Linked DNA regions of Homo sapiens: region 2 is linked to region 1. The links are contacts of gene promoters, found by promoter capture Hi-C in human tissues and cell types (Jung and others, 2019). All regions are on one chromosome and are shown on one strand. The core of a region is centred on a gene start or on the middle of the fragment in contact, and the rest is flanking DNA. Distances in the headings are between cores, read along the strand shown. Region 1 holds the start of PAX6 (paired box 6). Region 2 overlaps DNAJC24 (DnaJ heat shock protein family (Hsp40) member C24).

The links. Contacts are between HindIII fragments. The study calls those that stand out against the background at their distance.
Region 2: a contact is called between a fragment that was not itself captured here and the fragment with the promoter of PAX6 in region 1, in 1 of the 25 tissues and cell types used here (lymphoblastoid cells).

What each region holds. Positions count from the first base shown.
Region 1 is chr11:31,810,072-31,816,377 of GRCh38, forward strand. PAX6 (paired box 6) reads right to left here and starts at 1,251. Exons shown (of 14, transcript NM_001368894.2): 1 at 1,044-1,251; 2 at 757-944. RefSeq lists enhancers at 817-1,386, 1,089-1,146, 2,494-3,462, 5,524-6,285, a promoter at 1,034-1,443 and a silencer at 4,306-4,560. The HindIII fragment of the contact is 12,830 bases long and covers 1-6,128 here.
Region 2 is chr11:31,431,165-31,438,883 of GRCh38, forward strand. It overlaps DNAJC24 (DnaJ heat shock protein family (Hsp40) member C24), which reads left to right. Exons shown (of 5, transcript NM_181706.5): 5 at 1-1,671. IMMP1L (inner mitochondrial membrane peptidase subunit 1) reads right to left here. Exons shown (of 6, transcript NM_001304274.2): 5 at 2,296-2,406; 6 at 1,237-1,404. The coding sequence ends at 1,336. Among named protein-coding and RNA genes, the nearest start is that of DNAJC24, 65 kb to the left of the region's middle. The HindIII fragment of the contact is 5,117 bases long and covers 70-5,186 here.

The DNA of each region.
Region 1 (6,306 bases), core at 1-2,500:
CCGCTCGGCTCTGAGCTCCCTCGGAGCGCGCGTTCCACCGCCTTGGCCTGGTGGCTTCCTTCCCGGCTCGCGCTAGCTCGCTCTTCCCTCTACCTCCAGCGTGCGGCTGCCTTGCCGACTGACTCCACTCGGGCTGGTGGCGGGCGCGGTGCCCCCCTCGGCGCTCGAGTGCCGGCTGACTCTTCTGCGCCGGAGCCCAGTGCGGCACAAAGCCCGAGGGCCGGCGGGCGGGCGGAGACGCGGCGAGCAGGTTCCCTCGGCGCTCCCTCGGCGAGTCCTCGGAGCGCCCGCTCTCTGCGCGTTCGCTGGGCCTCGGGCTGGACAAAGCAGCCGGCAGCGGTTGCTCTCTGCGGCCGTTCCAGGGCCTTGGGCACCACAGAGCCTCTTCGTCTTTTCCCGCGGGTCGGGAGCATTGGGCGACGCTGGGGCTAGGAGCCGCGGCTGCTGTCGCGCCTGGAGTCTCCCTTCTTCCCGCGAGCTCAGCCCGCGCTGGCGCTGGCGCTGGCGCTGGGGCTGAGCTGGCCGCCCGCCCCGAGCCCTGCGCCGCTCCCGCTCGCCGGCAGTCGCCCTCCGACGCGGGCTTTCGCTGGAAGTAGAAAGTTTGGGCTCCTGCGTGGAAACTTCTCCGGCCCAACTCTCCCGGCGTAGCAGTGGGGGAGGGGACCGGCGAGAGGGGAGGAAGGAAGGGGGGAGGAAGGGGGAGACCTGTCTGAATATTGCAATAAAAATAAAGCGAGAAGAAAGAAGCGGACTCACCTTTATGAGGCATCCTTTCTGGTTGTCACAGCTTCTGTCAAGAGTTTTGTTTGGTTGGGGTTTTTTGTGCTGCTGTTGTTGCTTGAAGACCACAATGGTTTGAAATGACGGTGTTTTAAAGGAGTTGCTGGTGAGAGTTTTCTCCACGGATGTTGCTGGGTTGGTGTGTGAGAGCAATTCTCAGATTCCTGGGAAGGAGACAGAGATTGACAATAAAATGGGCTGTCAGCGGCTGGAGAGTGAGAGATAAAGAGTGTGGGTGAGGGAAGTGGCTGCAGCCAGCACACCTATGCTGATTGGTGATGGCTCAAGTGTGTTAATGTGTGTGTGCCGGCGCCCGGCCTCGCCTCCACCGCTCCTCACTGGCCCATTAGCGAAGCCTGACCTCTGTCATCATCCTCCAGCAAAACACTTCCTCCTGCGCCTGAACCAGAGCGGGAAATGAGGCCGAGCCACGGTTCCCTTTTCAAACCCACTAATCACTCCGCAACATGCAAATGCACCGCTCGCTCTCACACAAAATATTGCTTTATGCAAAGCAGCGCCGGGGCCTCGCGCCAGCCGATTGGATGCTCCCTCTCCCCGCCTGGTGCAATTGGTCCGTTTGTTTGAATATGAATACACTTGTTTTCGGCTCCGCCGGTGGGTCCCGGCTCCTCTCCCCGGCGCAGGGCCCCCGAGCCCGGGCTCTGGCGCTCGCCTGCATCTCCCCGCTCCGCGCACGCCGAGATTCGGCGCGGCCCGCCCTGCTGCCGCGAACTTGAGCGGTCAAGTGAAGGTTTCTGGGTTGGGGGTCGCGCCCCCACTCCCCCTAAGCTGGACTCGGGACTCCCAGTCCTCGGAGGGTGCAAGTTTCTGTGCTGTCCTTTCTTGCCAACTCCAGGACAGCGTGGCCTGCCGCCCCGCCCCCGCCCGCCCCCACCCCATCCCAGCCGGGGCCCCAAGACACAGAGCACAGCGGCGGCCGCACCCCAGCCCACCTGGCCCCTTGGAAGAAGAGGAAAGGGGCGGGAGCGTCACTGGGTCCTGGCAGCTCCATTCCAGCTGCGGAGGCCGCGGCGAAGCCTAGGCCGAGAGGAGGTTGCCGGGCCGAGAACTAAACGAGGCCAGAGGCCTCCCCAGCCCAAGCCTCCAGGGCCTGTCCAAATCCTCCACCCCGCTCTCCCCGCCCTTTCTTCTCTCCTTTCTCCTTTCGGAAGCCGCGGTGCGCAGCGGAGCAGAGGCACAGCTCTGGCTGGAGAGGCCCGAGTAAACACGCCACTTACTTTGTGTACAGAGGGTTCTTGTGAAAAGCCCTGAAGAGTCCTCACCAAACACTCACCAACTTCTCCCACGTGCCATTTGTTGACTAAGTGCGGCTGCTTTTCGCAGCGCCCGAGAGGAGGGGAAGCCAGGGGAGATAAGAGGGGAGGGGGAGTGGAAGCCTGGGTGGGGGGGCGGATGACCAATGCTGGGAGGGATTCTCTCTCTCTCTCTGTGTGTGTGTGTGTGTGTGTGTGTGTGTGTGTGTGTGTCCCACTGGCGATGTCGGTATGTCAGCGTGTGTCGTGTGTGCCACCGGTCATCTGTGTGTGGTGCGTGTGTCTCCGCACCACGACTCCCTCTCCTGGGTCTGCTCAGTCCACGGAGGCAGCTCCCCTTCAGCTGTTGCCAGAAAACCGGGGAGGAAAGTAAGTAAATGGCTTTTCTCTTCTGACCACACACCAGAAGTCCATTTGTTGAATGCCGCACGATTAGGACACACCTCAGTACACTCCAAAGGCGCCCCTCGGAGCCTGCAGTTAAGGTGACAGGAGAGCGAGCGGCTGCCTGGTCCTGCGCTGTCCCGAGCTCTCTCGGCGGCTTCGGGCCACGGAGCCGGGAAGGAGAAGGAAGGCCTGGGCTGCTGTACACACCCCAGGACAGGGCGAGGGGGAATAGGGCTGAAGAGCTGAGGCAGGGAGGCTGAAATGAAGCAGCCGAAGGGTACGCTAGACTCTTCTTGACTTAGGGAAAGTGCTGAAAGTCAGAGCTCATCAATAAAATCTGCGCGACCTGAACTCGCTGCTGACTGGCCGCGTCGCCGCAGCCCCTGGCAGCCGGGACAGTGAGGACGCTGCAAGCCGCCCTGGGCCGCCGGGCCACATGTGGGCCTCACCCTCTCGTTCCTGCCTGGGACCCAGCAGCCCTGCGACCAAGGAGCCCGGGCAGGGCTCCCGGGAAGCAAAGGCCTCCCCGGCCCTAGCCAGAGGTGGGGTCGCATAACCCTCTCCCCTCCCCGGGCTGGGGAGGGCTGCCGGCTCTAACCCTTCCCCGGGAGCTCGCAGCGCCGGGAGGAAACCTGGGTCAGAGGTGAAGGAGGTGGCGCCGGGTGTCCAGGTCCGCGGCCTCCTGGGCGAGGTTTCATTTCGCAGGAGCGCGACTTTCGGAGGATGCCGGCAAGTGGGGCCGCGGCCCTGAGTCCCAGACCAGCGAAAGTCGGCTTTCTCTTTCTCTCTCCTTTTACTTTCCAAGCGAGCATTAAAGAAGCTTGGACTCAAGACTCAAGTCCGCTGTGCATGAGCGAGGGACTTGCGGGGGGGCGGGGGGGGGGGAAGTGATTCTGTCCGAACTGGAGGCGAGTATCATTTTTACAACCTCTCAATTAGCGACCGAGTGGATTAGCACCTTCTTAAGCTTTGCCTCGGAAAGAAGCAGCCGTAATCTTGTTGCTATTTCCCCCCAGGGCACTGGCTCTTTGAATCAGCTCCTTCTCCCACCCCTCCAACCCCCATCTCGCTGCGGAGAAAAGTTTTAACAAAAAATCAGAAAAGGCAAGGAGCGAGGAGTGAATGCCACTGACGTCATTGGGTGGGGAAGGGGGCTCCGGGAAAGACTCCTGGAAACTCCTCCGCACAAACAAAAAACAAAAAGGACTTGGCTGCTTCCCATGTGTCAATATTTGGGGAGGGGAGTTCAACCCCAGAATGAGGCCGAGTTTTCAAAGTTTAAGGAGAGAGGGGTGAGAGTGAGATTTCCTCGTTCTCTCTGGACTGGTCTCAAGGAAGGTGGGGGTGCTGTTCTACCTCGTGGGGAGCCTCACTCCCTCTGCCAAGTACCGGCTCTGGGGGCGAAGCGGCCTAGGGGTGTGGGGGCCGAGACTGAGGTGCGGGCGCGGTTGCCAGAGGTGTGTACAAAACCGAGACAACTCGCAGGTCGCCATTTTAATTGCGGCTACCAACACGCCCGAGGCCCACTTGCTGCCCTCCAAGACGCGGGGGGGCGGCGGGGATTGCGCTTTAGGTTCTGTCTCCTTTCCCCGCCTCCCCACAGGCCCCTGTTCCCCCCTACCCTCCGCCCCCTGTGGCCAGAGGGAGGACCTCTCAGGCCGGCGGGTGCGTTCCCGCGGGGGCCGCCGGGGTCGTCCCACCCGGTAGCGGGGCTGTCTGCGTGGAGGGAGTCCCGCTGGGGGACCGTGGCTCGCCAGAGCCTGCCCAGAGCTTCTAGCCAGTATTGATGCGTCAACATGAGGTGAGGCAAGCATCTCACCCGCACCGATCCCTGGCATTCCCCTGTGCCCACCCCATCAGGCCTTCGGGGAGGCAAAGAAGTGCCCACTTCTGGGGGGAAGTGCCTCCAGCTCCCAGCTTCAGAACCAAGAGCCTCCCATCCGGAGTTCTGACAGTTCTGACACCTCCAAACTCTCTCTTTCCCCGGTCAAGCAGAGGCGCAGCGCCGGCGCGCTGGAAAGGGTGAAGACTGGCATTTTTTGGAGAAGGAAAGTCTTGGCAGACACCTGCGTCACTTTGTAGTGCCCCAAACGTCTCTCTTTTTGCAGACCCTGGGAAGGTGGGATCCCTTGTCCGCGGAGCTGGCAAACGGGTCCAGTGAGCCCTAAAGGCAAAGGCTCCCATCCCGGCCGCCCAGTCCCTGGTGCCTCCCCCACTTCCAGGCCTTTGTCCCTCTCCTTTCTCCAGCAACCTGCCGGTTCCCGCTAACCCGGCAGCCTCGCCGAGCCCAGAGCCTAGAAAAGCCAAGAAGATCCCAGAGCCGCCCCGTGGCACCTTCAGGCTGTGGCCACTGCTCGGCTTGGGGGGAAGCCGCGGTGCCCTCGCCCTTCCTCGCCTCCTGCCAAATGGCCAGTGCTAGGGGCTCCCTGGGTTCAGTCCTCAGTCCTCTTCCGTTCGCTCTGGGAGGCCAGCCTGTCTCTCTCTCTCTCTCTCTCTCTCTCTCTCTCTCTCTCTTTCTCTCTCTGTCTTCTCCCTGCCCACCCCCAAAATACCTTTAAAATAACATTGTCCAGTGGAGTCTCCCAGCAAAGGGATTCCTAGCAGCCCAGCGGGTCAGACTCCCAAGGCTTTGCCTCCCAGTCCCTCCATGCTGTTGTCCAGATAGGAGTTAGGTTTAAAACTCCTGACATGTAGGACAACTGAAATCAGCGGCACTCTCCGATTTTTGCAAATAGGGTTCCTAGAAAAGTTTGCTTTCCATTTCATCACCCTGTGACGATCCCCCCATCTCTCTTTTCCCTGTAACCTCTGCCCCCAAGAGGCAAGAGTTCAGCTTCAAAGGAAAAGCAAGCAAGTCAAGGCCACCTCAGTCCCTTCTCCCTGGATATCCCCTCTCTAAACCGCTGCCTATTCTAAAGGCCAACGACCCGGTCCTGCGATTTGTCCCGTTGTAGACCTGGGAACAGGCAGGCGGGAACTGGGGGCTTTACTGGGGGATTTGAGGCTGGGGAGGGGGAGGGAGCAAATGTCATGGCTGGCTCGCTCAAGCATCCAGGGAACCGAAGCTAAGCGCATCCTGACGGGCTTTTAAAATGACATTGATTAGGACAAGCTGTTCCCAACCCCAGTAAGAGTTAATCTGCCTGTTAATCAAGGCACTAAGGGGCTCAATGCGAGTTTTATTAGCGACAGGAGAACAGAGGCGGCAGCCAGGGATCAAAAGCCGGGATCCCATATATTTGTCAGCGCTATCTCCAAAAAAAAAAAAAAAAGTATTTTCAATTTGAAAACAATTCGGCGCTTTTCGTCACTTCCTAACCCAGTCTCACAGAGGGTGACTTCCAAACCTGGCTAGCGGGGAAAACCGCTGCCCGGGGGACAGAGGGGCTGACAGGAACTGCGGGTTGGCTCAGCCGAATGCGGCCGGGGAGAATTTAAGAATTCTCAGCCCGCGCGGCCCGATGCCTCTGATTCCTCACGAGAGGAAAGGGAATGAAAAATGAAGCAACAAATGACACCACCCAGGCTGGCAGCCCTCGTTCCCGGCCAGACCCCGCTCCTCAGGCCCGGCTCTGGCGCCGGGTGGCGTCCAGCCCCTGCACGCGCGGCGCGGCCCGCGGGAAAGTTTGTGCAGCGAGAGTGACTGTCCTTCCGCCTCGCGCGCGCTGCCCCCTTCTGCCCCGGAGGGGCGTTGGGTTCCCTTCGGTTTTCCTTTCCAATTCTAAAATAAATAAATAAACTCCGGGCCCTGGGGAAATCTGAATAGTAATTCCAGTCATCCAAATTCTATGAGAGGGTCTGAGGAAAAAAAGACAAGCCTATCACGGGCGCCCTCCGATCACGAAGGGCACGGGCATGAGAA
Region 2 (7,719 bases), core at 1,378-3,877, 380 kb before region 1:
GCCCACCACCATGCCCAGCTAATTTTTGTATTTTTAGTAGAGATGGGGTTCCACCATGTTGGCCAGGCTGGTCTCAAACTCCTGACCTCAGGTGATCCACCTGCCTCGACCTCCCAAAGTGCTAGGATTACAGGTTTGAGCCACCGTGCCTGGCCTAAGTTTTGTTAATAGAGATGGGATTTCATCATGTTGGCTAGGCTGGTCTTGAACTCCTGGCCTCAAATGATCCGCCCACCTCAACCTCCCAAAGTGCTGGGATTGCAGGCGTGAGCCACCATGCCTGGCCAGAAGCTTTTTTAAAAATAATGACTTGGAAGTTGGTGCATTATTTCCCCTTTTATTTTGGAGTGTTGATATAATATTGGGGCCAGGCATGGTGGCTCACATCTGTAATCCCAGCACTTTGGGAGACTAAGGCAGGCGGATCACCTTTGGTCAGGAGTTCAAGACCACCCTGGCCAACATGGTGAAACCCCATATCTACTAAAAATAATTTTTTTAAAAATTAGCCAGTCACGTTGGTGTCTGCCTGTGGTCCCAGCTACTCGGGAGGCTGAGGCACAAGAATCACTTGAACCCAGGAGGCAGAGTGAGCCGAGGTTGTGCCACTGCACTGCAGCCTGGGCTACAGAGAGCAAGACTCTGTCTCAAAAAAAATAAAATAAAATAAATAAAAAAAGATATAGTATTAATGCCTGTATTTATGAAGACAGGGCCATTGCACTGCTGCTATGCTGAAATGAACTTTTATAAAGTATTATTGACTATAGCCAACTACAGATGGCATATGCCTTAAAGATGCATTTTTCTATGTATTTAATATTTTGTGTACAGTAAAAGTCAGAACTCATTTAAAGAACTTTAAGGGATCCTTTAGAAACATTTTTACTTAATTTCAAATGAGTGGGCTGAGCATGTAGACTAGCAGCTTTTTATCAAACCTGGCATTGTCAGGTTGAACTTATAAATACGAATAGTTACTACTCTGACTTGTAAATGTAGCTGCTAAAGTATGAGGTATATTTAAGAAGAATAGATTAGTTTCATTATACCTATAAGAACAAGAATTCAAAAGTGAGGTAGTCATCCAGGTTCCCCCTCCCACAATATTTTTGTATCATAAAATTTAGATGACTTTTTTGGGTTACATTTTTATCCATATATTTTGAACTAACAGAACTTGGCAGAATGTGTGTTGAATATTCTTTACATTTAACAATTAAAAACAACTAAAACTGAATAGCAAATAGTTTATTGGTAAGTACACGGTTTCAACGGGAGTAATAAATTCACATGAAAAGGAGACAATAATCAAGTCAAAAGAATAAATGCTTACTAATCATCAGAAAATCTGTGGCCATTAGGGCTGGCACGTAAAAATCCAAAATCACTCAGAGGCCAAATCTGTAAAATCAAAATGAGGTTGAAGACAATTAGTGAAAGTAATGTTATAGTATCATCATATTCCCTTTTGCTATCTGTCCCTTTTCTCTATGCCAGATAAACACTTTCTCCTTACTCATCAATCAAGAATAAAATTTTCTACATCAAAGTAAGACTTGAGAAAATAAACTTATGTGTATATATGTTTAAACTCCAAAGTTTGGGACATTCAAACAATGTACATGAAATTATATGTGTGTGGTGTGTGAATAAATATGTATGAATATATGGTCTGTGTTTTCTTTTACTACTTGCAAGTAAGAGTTAACTGTGTACTTTCAACCAAAGGGGCTTAGGTTTAAGTACTTGAATATGGCATCTGTTTTAAATGTAAAGAATCCTGTAAATTATCCAACAGCTCCATGTATTCATGAATGTTTTTCTCCTCACTGATTGTGATAAAAAGGAGGGGCCAGTGAAAACAATCTTCCCTAATAATCATACATTCACAATAAGTCTGTGACTCACAGTACTCAACTGGGGTATCCCTACTTTACAGGTAGTTTGAATCTAGACTGTTCTTCTGCACATGCTTATTAAAATATGCCCTGGGCAGGATGTGAACATGGTTTTAAGAGTTGTACAAGAGAGAACTGAACTTTTGGAAATTCAAATTAAAGTTTTCTTAGGCTATAGCTAAGGTAGTTTGGATTTTATTATTATCTCTATGGGAGCAGGGGCAATGGGGGAATAGGTTTGCATATGGCTATTAAGTTAAGGCCAACAGGTTCAAAAAATATATTCGGTGCAACAGTTAAGTACACTGACAGCTTGAAGATTTCAGAGATCATTTTGAGAGAAACTTTTTCTAGCTCAGAAAATAAACCTTACATTTTAAGCAGAAAATGGTACCTTAAAGAAGATTCGTCCTCTTATTAGTCCATATGGAATAGGTCCATAGCACCTGGAATCTGTAGAATTCTGTAGATTGTCACCTTCTAACCAAACATGACCCATTGGCACCTAGAATTAGAGAAGAAATGCAGCCTCTTAAAGATAAAACCTAATTTGGGTACTATAATTAAAAAGCATGTCATTCAGAGGTAGGGAGAAATGTCCTAAGGCTCTCTTTTATAGAATAGATACAAATCCTAATATTGCATTTTTGCTTTTATTTCTTGCACAATAACTTTTACTAAATATCAAAGGTTTCAACTTTTTTAAAAACCTATCATCTTTTTTTGTCATATGGTTCCCAAATATTAATTTGTTATACAAACCCCAAACTGAGGTTATAAGAGATCAAAATAGTGTGACAGGGTCATTAATTTAATAGACTTCAAAAGAGGTCATTAGGATGCTGACTGAAAATGCGCCCTTGTGTCTCAATAACAGTATAAGCAGGGCAGCCACTCACTCAGCAACATCCTGGGGCCAATACCAAAGCCAAACCTATTAGAATGCTCATGATGAACTAAATGGTAATTGATTGTGACATCAATTACAAATAATCTCATCATTTTATTGGAGTAGGCTTGTCAGAATTCTAATTAACATCCCTGTTCTGCCTTTGTACAGGCCATATCTTCAATGCATTATACTTCAATAATGACCATGAAGAACCAGAAGGACCTATTATAAAATCATCAGTTGTAAAATTAATGATGGTGACCTTCTCCTAAATGAAAAGACTATCTCCTATAATGTTCTATGTATAAACTGGTAAATAACAAGATTTTTACTCAGTGACAATCATAAGCATATTTAGAACAGAATACATTGTTTTTTTTAAGCCACCTGCAATATGAGACATTTGCCTATTTCTGTTCAATGTAAACTAAAAAACTTACTTTCCAGCAACAATCTTTAAAATTGCTTTTTAAAAGTTTTTATTTTACAGTTTTGTTATCTAAGACAGTTGAATTATTGACCAGACCAAAATGATCTATGTATGGGGAAGGAATTTATTTTCACTATTCTTTTGACTGGTTTTACTTGTAAACCTTTTATGAAGAAAAATACACTACTGGGTTTAATAAGAGATAATGCAACTTTTTTTTTTAATCACAAATTACTTTCTTGAAAAGTAAATGTATACAAGAATGTAAAATTTGAATTTCACTTACGTAAGCGATTTTAAGATTCTGGAAAGTCTTATGTACAAATATTTGCCAAAAATCTCCAAATTAACTCTGCGTTTAGATACATTTAAACATTAAATCTATTTGTAGAAAAAGGACATAAGTTTACTGAAAGAATATCAGAAACTGTATGATCATTCACTTTTATTACTGGAACTAGTTTGTCCAAGGGCCAATAGCAAGGCCACTTCCTTGCTATCTAATAAAATAGACATATGTGCAGTGAAGTGTAAGACTGCTCTAGTAGGAAAGTGTGTACATCACAGTCATCAAAAAAGGAACAAAATAATGAATTTGGAAAAGCCATATGTAATTAACATTCTGAAGTGTTATTTGATAAAGCTATAAGGTGAACATCTTTCGTGTCTAAATTTCCATAGTTTCTTCCTAAAATGTGTTTTTTCCTGAGTTCTAAAAACAGGTAATATATATGAATAAATAAAACCATGTAGTTATGGACACCAGTAAAAGTAAAATTAAAACATTATGCAAACTAATAAGGCAACTATCAACAATCTAGGGATATCTTTGTCTGACCATCCCATTGAACCAGGATCAGTGGTTTCTACATTCCATCTCTTCATGAAGCTTTCCCTAAACTTGCCTGCCCTTACCAACCTGATTGTTTCCAATACTTAACACACAAAGTCAGCCTTGCTTGGGGCCCTACATTATAACCTTTAATATTATTTTTAACCTGCTTGGCTTTTCTGTCAGTTTTTACTATTTTATACCAGAATAAACCAACAGGCAGTAATGCCATGATTTGACTTTTATTGCATTTTAGTTTGGTGCAAAAATAACTGCGGTTTTTGCCGCAAAATACATTTAATGGCAAAAACCACAATTACTTTTGCACCAATCTAATAGATTTTTGCCAATATATATGGCAAAAAATGATACCTTTGTCTTATGAGTGAAGCTGAATCTTCTTTTCGTGTTTAAGAGGCATTTAATTCCTTCTCTGTGATATCTTTTTGCATGTCTTTTGCCATTTGGCTACTGGATTGATCTCCTTTTTTTCCCTCATTTCATAAGCACTCTTTCAATACTAGGGAGATTAGCCCTTTGTGGTACAAATAGCAAATATTCCCAGTTTCTCATTTCTGTTATGAGCCTTTGCTTTCATGTCTTCTGAATTTTGAGTCTTTCTTAGAAAGGTCTCATGGTTTCTTCTTTTACATTTAACTGTTTTATTCTTTGGGAGTACATCCTGACAAATGGTTATAAGGCTTGGATGAACGTTTTTAATTTTTGTAAATAATAACTAATTTAATACCTTGGTAATATTTTTCTGTGCATTTATTTGATTGTTGGCAGTGTCAAATATTATTCTGTGTGTTTTCTGATTGAATTTAATATCCAGTGAATAGTCTGTGCCTACTTTTGCATATATTAGTCTTTGGGATCTCAATTTTCCTATCTATGTGTATTTCTTATATAATACAAAGATTAATACATTTATTGCAAACATTTTTCCCAATCTATTTTTTGTCTTTTTATATTATGTTCCACAAAGTTTTTAGTTTTTTATGCAGTATTTACTTTTATATCCATATGCTTTTTAAAAGATGATTTTAATTATTTACAGTACCTAAACCAAAAGTGGAACTCAGATATTTGCTGGTGGTTAAATACTTGTAAATAGAAATTCTTTGAAAGCACAATGATAACTGCCATTAGCTAGGTCACTTTTGTAGCAGTTATGACCTGAGTTTCTTTCAAATTAGCGACATCATCTCTGGAGTAATTTTTGTTTTTTGAGACGGAGTCTTGCTCTGTTGCCCAGGCTGGAGTGCAGTGGTGTGATCTCGGCTCACTGCAACCTCCACCTCCTGGGTTTAAGCAATTCTCCTGCCTCAGCCTCCCAAGTAGCTGGGATTATAGGTGTCCACCACCACACCCAGCTAATTTTTCTATTTCAGTAGAGACAGGGTTTCACCATGTTGGCCAGGCTGGTCTTGAACTCCTGACCTCAAGCAATCCACCCGCCTCAGCCTCCCAGAGTGGTGGGATTACAGGGGTGAGCCAGTGCGCCCAACCATCGCTGGAGTAATATAATTAACAACTACAGAAAGGAATCTTCTAAAAAAAACATCTAGAACATATGACCAGGAGCCTTTCATTTGATACTTAAAATAACCTGTGAAGTACTAAATTTGACATTTAGTCAAGGAAAAAGAAATAGGTTCAAATATGAGACATGCTAACTCCTCATTACCTGAAATCCATACATGTTAATGACCATGCATCCATTTACAGTAAAGGGATTGCCTACATCTCAGACAACACTTCATGTAAAGTACACAAATCAAGGAAACAGCTTCATCACTGATGTTACCTTTAATCTAACAAGATCTCTATAAAACAAGAAAACCTCTACGTACAGATCTTTTAAAATTAAAGCAGGCATCTTTGCTGATCCACCTCTATAAGTTGCAGGTTGAGTATCTCTTATCTGAAATGCTAGAGACCAGAAGTGTTTCAGGTTTCATATATTTAGATTTTGGAATATTTGCATATACACGAGATATCCAGGGGAAGAGACCCAAGTCTAAACATGAAATTCATTTATGTTTCATATACACCTCATATATATATAGCCTGAAGGTAATTTTATACAGTATTTATAATTTGTCCAAGGAACAAAGTTTTGACTGTGTTTTGACTATGACTCGTCATGTGAAGTCATATGTGGAATTTTCCACTTGTGGCATCACACAGGCACTCAAAAAGCTTCAGATTTGGGAGCATATTGGATTTCGCATATTCAGATTAGGGATGCTCAACCCATACTCAGTTTACCAGTAAAAAAACATAATGTTTGCAATTACTCCTCCTTTTAAATATATAATTATTTTTGGTATGGGGGAAAAGAGTGAGAACTTTATTTCACTTTAAAAATCAATTTTATAGAGGTATATTTTATATACAGTAAAATGCACCTGTTTTAAGTTTTGACACACGTTTTGAAAAATGTACATACCCATCTAACCACAACCACAATGATACAGGATGTTTCTTCCATGCCGAAAAGTTCCCTCTGTTCCTTTGCAGTCAGTTCCTATCGCCATGCCTAGACCCAGTCAACGAGTGAACTGCTTTCTGTTACTAGATAGTAGTTGTGCCTGTTGCTTAATTTCATATAAATGGAATTACAAAGTACCTATTTTGTGTCTGCCTTCTTTTGCTTAGCAAGTTTTTATGATTAATCTATGTTGTATGTAAAAGTCATTCATTTTTTACTTCTGAGAAGTATTCCACTGTAAACCACAATGTTTATCTATGAAACTGGAGGTGGATACTTGGGTTGTTTGCAGTTTGGTGCTAGTAAAAATAAAGCACTGTGAACATTCATGTACAAGTCTTATTTCTTTTCAGTAAGTATCTAAGGGTGGAATTTCTGGGTCATCAGTAAGTCTATGTTTAACCTTAAAGAAATTACCAACCTTTTTCAAAGTGATACTATTGTATACTCCCAACAACCAATGTATGACTGTGTTCCTGTTGTTCCACAACCTCTCCAGCACTTGGTATTATCAGTTTTTAAATGTTTTGCCATTCTAGCAGGTTAAGGATATTAAATTGTGGTTTTAATTTGCACTTCTCTGATGAAAGCATTTTTCCATTATGCATACTAGTATTATCTTTTGTGAAGTATCCATTAAAATATGTTGGCCATTTTAAAAATGGGTTATCTTCTTATTCATTGTACCAGTCCTTTATTTACCATGGATACAAGTCCTTTGATGGGATTGCAAATATTTTCTCCCAGGCTGCATCTTTTTAAATGATGTTTTGACAAGCAGAAGTTTTTAATGTTGCTGAGGTCCAATTCATACTTTTTTTCCTATTGTGTTTCGTGCTTTTCGTGTCCTAAGAAATCTTTACCTGCCCCCAGATTATGAACATATTATACTATATTCTACAAATTTTATAGCTTTAGCTTTGATTAGGTATGTGATCCATTTTGAGATAACTTCTGTGCATGATGTGAAGTATTTGTTGCATCTGTTTTTGTTTCCTTTTTTCCTCCTCTCTATTGGATTATTTTTCTGAATTTTTTCATTTATTCAATTGCCATATTTAACATAGATCTTATTCTTGAAGTTGTTACTCCAGGGTTTACAATATGCATCATTAATCACAGTCCACCTTTTCTTCAGGTATAACTATCTTCACATATTATACCACT